Linked DNA regions of Homo sapiens: region 1 is linked to region 2. The links are contacts of gene promoters, found by promoter capture Hi-C in blood cells and fetal thymus (Javierre and others, 2016). All regions are on one chromosome and are shown on one strand. Each heading gives the region's core, a stretch centred on a gene start or on the middle of the fragment in contact. The rest is flanking DNA. Distances are from core to core; before and after follow the strand shown. Region 1 has its middle 5.5 kb from the start of TM4SF4. Region 2 holds the start of TM4SF1 (transmembrane 4 L six family member 1).

What was found. Contacts are between HindIII fragments. The CHiCAGO score rates a contact against its expected background, and 5 or more counts as called.
Region 1: a fragment that was not itself captured here is called in contact with the fragment with the promoter of TM4SF1 in region 2 in 1 of 17 cell types (endothelial precursors); the score reaches 7.4 in endothelial precursors.

Annotation. Positions count from the first base shown.
Region 1 is chr3:149,467,855-149,470,554 of GRCh38, forward strand. No RefSeq gene overlaps it. Among named protein-coding and RNA genes, the nearest start is that of TM4SF4, 5.5 kb to the right of the region's middle. The HindIII fragment of the contact is 3,012 bases long and covers 1-2,700 here.
Region 2 is chr3:149,376,264-149,378,963 of GRCh38, forward strand. It overlaps TM4SF1 (transmembrane 4 L six family member 1), which reads right to left and starts at 1,386. Exons shown (of 5, transcript NM_014220.3): 1 at 1,108-1,386. The coding sequence starts at 1,284. It overlaps TM4SF1-AS1 (TM4SF1 antisense RNA 1), which reads left to right and starts at 1,515. Exons shown (of 2, transcript NR_109810.1): 1 at 1,515-2,052. The HindIII fragment of the contact is 5,350 bases long and covers 633-2,700 here.

The sequences.
Region 1 (2,700 bases), core at 57-2,556, 92 kb after region 2:
TAATGAAAGGCAACATGCGTAGAGGTTAAGAGCACAGACTTTTTTTTTTTAAACTAGATTGCTTGAGATCAAATCCTGTCTCCTGCTACTAGTGATGAGATCTTGGGAAAGTTACTTAATCTCTCTGGGATACAGTTTCCTTATGAGTAAAATTCAGATTAAAATAGAACCAACTTCATACAATTGCTCTGTTTTCTGTTATTAGCATTATTAATATCTATCTTCCTTTTCTTATAAGCTCTGTCCATTTAACACGTCTCCAGTACCTGACACATCAGTGCTCAAAAAATGTGCTAAAAGAATAAATATACAAAAGCTAAAATTGACCCCCATGAAAGTTCACTGACATGAAATTTTAAGACAGTTGTTTTTGATGTTTTTTTTTTTTTCCAAATTGTGCTTGCTGTCTTGGTGTTGTTATCATTTCCCAATATGTTTGTAAATTTTTATAAGCAAAAATTATTTGGAAAAATAATTTTTAAAAACTAATGGGGAAACACTTGTACAAAGGCACAGACAAAAAGAATAATACATAATTATATAAAGTCAGATTTATAGAAATTAAAAACACATGCAGTGTTAAAATTTCTCTGCATTTTAAAGCCATAACATGAATTTTTAAACTTGGTTTCTTTTTGAACCCATGTTTAATTTTAAAAAGAAGATGAGGAACCGCAGTTAGTGATGTTTTACCTTACGGAGAGTGGGTGAGGGGTGAGTTCCTGTTGAAAGTTAACTTCTCACCTATAACCATGATGATATCAAAGAATGCTAAAACAAATCAATATTTGGGCAGGTCATCTGGGACAGATTTACCAGCCAGAGCTCATGCCTCTCTGAGAGGTCACAGCTGTGCCCTTTTGTACTGAGACCTGCATTAGAGAGGACTATATAGCACCCCTTTGAGTCATGAGGCAGGAAGAGATTTGCATTTCTCATTCTAATTTTGAAAACAACTGGAGATACTTTTAAGGTGTAGATGGTGCCTGCTAGCTCCTCAAGTGCAAATCCTAACTCAGGCTGTGTCTACCCATACACAATTGTGGGAATTATCCAGATAATTTACCCTGTAGCAGAGAAAGGCCCTTGATTTAAACCTAAATGCATGCAGGCTGTCCTCTCTGTGTTGAGCAAACAATAGGTACCAGTCTTTGGTTTCTGAAGCAGGATATTGTGGTGATTAAGAGGATGGTCTCTATAATCAGACTCCTTTGGTTTAAATCTACCTTTATCTCTGTGGTGAATTAAAGCTGGCCAGAAATTCTCTGACATTTCTTTCATAAAGAGGTGAGGTCTATGTTCCCTCCCCTTGAATTTGAGATCATTCTGACTACACTGACCAATAAAATTGGCCAAAGTGACCCTGTCCCATTTTCTGGCCCAGGCCTTAAGACAATGGCAGCTTCTACTTATATCTCAGAGCCTTATGTTACCATGTAAAAGTCTAACTACAGTGTTGCAGAAACCACATGGAGAGCCCTGAGACTAAAGGAAGAAAAAGAGGGGCCCAGCTTTATATGAGCCCAGTGTTATAGCTGTTCCCATCAAGCCACCTTGATATATAAGTGAAACCACCTTGGATTCTGCACACCAATGTGGCCACAACTGAACAACAGCAAATAACCGCAATCAATACTACTTGGAGCAGAATAATCACCCAGTTTGTCTCAACCCATCTTCCTGACCCACAAAATCCTGAGATAAAGTAAAATGATTATTGTTTTAAATACACAGTTTTGAGTTGGTTTATTATACATCAAAAGATAACCAGTGGCCTGATGTGGTGGCTTACACCTGTATCCCAACAATTTGAGAGGCAGAGGCAGGAGGATTGCTTGAGCCCAGGAGTTTGAGACCAGCCTGGCCAAAATGGTGAAACCCCGTCTCTACTAGAAATACAAAAATTAGCTGGGCATGGTGGCACATGCCTGTGTTCTCAGCTACTCGGGAGGCTGAGGCAGAAGAATTGCTTGAACCTGGGAAGCAGAGGCTGCAGTGAGCTGAGATTGTGCCACTGCACTCCAGCCTGGGCAACAGAGTGAGACTCTGTCTCAAAAAAAAGAAAATTAGCCTGGTATGGTGGCATGTGCCTGTGGTCCCTCAGGAGGATAAGGCAGGAGGATCGCTTGAGCTCAGGCAGTGAAGGCTTTGGTGAGCTGAGATTGTGCCACTGCACTCCAGTCTGGGTGACAGAGTGATACCCGGTTCCAAAAAAAAAAAAAGATAACCAGAACAGTGTTTACCACTTGTTTTTGTTTCCTCATCTCTAAAATAGGGACAATAATGTCATGTAATTGCTTGCTTCTATAGAGCTCGATGACAACTCTAGATAGTGAGATAGAGACATCTGAGAGGGAGGTCTGTTTCTTCTAGTTCTCCAGACCATGTGGCCCTTTAGTAGTTCAGCCTCTCCCAGGACCCCGGTGCTTTAGGGAACACTCATGTTGAAGTGGCCCAGGCATGGAGGAGTCAGTCATGAAGCGTCAGAGCTCTTAGAGAATAGTGACTGTCTTCCCTTAGACAAAATATTTCACATTTCTTTGTTCGTGGAGGCCAAGTTGGCTCTCAACCCTGCTCCCAGCTCACCAACTTGGCACCTCACAATCTCCCCAAATCGTGCTTCATCCCATCTTCCATCTTTGCTCTTGTTATACTTCCTTGTCTCAAATCACCCCTCACTTTCTCTCTGCCAACACAGAT
Region 2 (2,700 bases), core at 136-2,635:
TAAGCTCTTAAAATATAGTAAATATGAAATACTTCAGGTTCAAGATCGAAAGAAACTTAAGTGTGATGTTATGTTTAAGACAAATAATCATGTTAACATGATAATAATGCTTAAATTTGAGGCAGACGGGCACTGTGGCTCATGCCTGTAATCCCAGCACTTTGGGAGGCCAAGGTAGGAGGGTCACTTGGGCCCATGAGTTCAAGACCAGCCTGGGCAACATGGCGAAACCCCGTCTCATTAAATAAAATAAAATTAAATAAAATCTCATTAAATAAATAATTTAGGGCAGATTTGCCATGCCATAATCAGTGTATTAGGTTTAAATGTTTTACTATCTTTTACTTGATTAAGAAAATTTATCACGTATGGTACCATTCCATAAAATTTCTCCTTAAAATTTTTAATCCCAGCACTTTAAAGTAGCAAACTTAAGTTTGCTCACATTCTTTCCATGCTGTGGTTGAAGCTAATGCTTTCAGCTCCCAGGTTGGCAGGGAAATTCCTCTCACTTCAATCAAAAACAATTCTTGGAAAAAATAACACATTCCACTATTAGCTTCAGACACCGACCTGCTGCTAACTGTAGGGTTTTTCCTAGACGCCACACCCCAGCCTTACATAAAGGAGAAAGCTTAGAGTTCTTTTAAAATAGCAATGCACTCACAATTCATTATTTTTCCCTATCACAGATGGCTGAAAATAAACAGCAGAGAATTTGGATTCAAAACTGTTGATTTAGGCAGAGAACCAGCCAACCCCTTCCGGCTCCCCAGAGCAAATGTTAAATGACTGCCCGTTCTAGTAGAAACTCTATAGTCTCTCAAATCTGATTTAAAAGCGAATATCTGTTTCCTACCTATAGAGTTTAGCAAAAAGGCAGTTCACTTTTAGTTGAAAGAGCATTTTGTAAAACAACATCTCATAAAATTACTACGCTATACTGTACCAATCTCGCTTTTGTATAATCTGCTTTCAAAGGAATGAACAGCAACAAAAAAGTCACTTGATTTAGAAATATGCATTACAAAAAACTTTCCATGAAAATACATAATGAAAACATCTAGGAAACAGGAGAGAATTCAGTAATAATCCTGAATGACTTACCAGCAGGCCACCTCCTACGATGCCAGAAAAGAACCACACGAAGCGGCTGAGGTGGTTTTCGGAGGCATACTTTGTTTCCCCATTGGGAAAGTAAAGCAAAATATTAGCCGCGATGCACAGGAGGGCGAGCCCCACCAGAGAATGTCCGATGCATCGTGCACACTTCCCATAGCACATGGTGGTCTGCTAGGTTTTCTCCCCCTTCTCTTTGTCTTCAGCTCAGTGATACCCCAAATTAGATGAAAGTGTGCCCTTCTGGTGGAGAAAGCAAACACCACTCTCAGCCCATTCCTGCTACCTCTTAAATACTGCGATTCTTAGTCACTGAGGGGATGAGGTACTTTGCTTTCATTGGTCCTAATGGCAGGCTCTGGCTGTGGTGCGAAGAGGCAGGGGGAATGTCCCGCCCTTCAGACGAAATCCTTGGGACAGGCAAAACCAGGGGCAGGATGTGAGAAACAGCCTCAGTCATAGGCAACAGGGAAAATGATTAATCTTGAACAAGGCATTGACTGTGCAACTCCTCCACAAGATAAAGAATCAACAGGAAAGCCTAACATGACTTTCCAGTAACTGCCAAGTGTCCGAGATGCAACAGCCCTGGTTGAGGCTTTGAAAGACAGTGAGCTGTGCCCCTGCTCCATGCAGCTGTCTGGACAGCTTCCAATCTGAGAGCTCTGTGTTCATTTCTACCTTTGTGCTGATTTAATTTACAACCTGGGGCAAATCTCCTGAGCTCATTTCCTTGTCTATTAAATACAAGGTGTCTGAGACGTCTCCCATGGATTTGAGAAGGCTGTTGGGAAAACTACAGAGCAAACTTCTTTACTCTGCCTACAGCAAGCTCTGCAGGATGGATTTCAGTGTTCAGCGTCCCTGGACATCTGCCTCTAAAACAAATCTGCACCACAACAGAGGTGGCATCAGTCAACACAAAGGGCTCAGGTGCTTTTTAAAAATTATTGAGTGTTGCTGTCAGGAAAAGCAATGCCAGGAAGGGCCAAGGAAGGCCTAAAGCATGGGACAAAAATAAAAAGAGGAAGAAGAGAGGGGGAGGAAGAGAATGGGAGAGAAGGAAAGAGGAAAGGAGGAAGGAAGAGAGGAAGGAAAGAAGAGAAGGAGGGAGAGAAGGAGAGAGGGAAAAAGGGAGGAAGGGAGGGAGGGAGGAAGGAAGGAAGGAAAAAAGGAAGGAAGGATGGGGGGAGGGAAGGAAGGAGGGAGAGGGAGAAAAAAATAAGACAAAGGGACTTGGCAAGCAGAGTGGAGAAACAAGGTTCAGAGAAACAGAACTGGCTAGGAGTGTCAGAACCCACACAGAGGTAAACAGATGGTTTACCCAGCCAGATCCTGAGACCAGCTTCCACAGGCTCCCCACACAGGGCAGAGAAAGGGTGTTAGACTAACTTTCTAGGTGGTTACCTTGCAGAAGGAGGGGCTGGGCACTGAATAAATTTATGCCTTGAACAGCAGATTGCACCAGCCAGTGGATGGTGGTGGGAGGTGGACAGGGTGGCCGGGTGGGGCCAGGCCTGGAGGGCCTTGTCACCAGGACAAGATAGAGAGTACAGAAAATAGAAAAGGACCAAGGTAGGG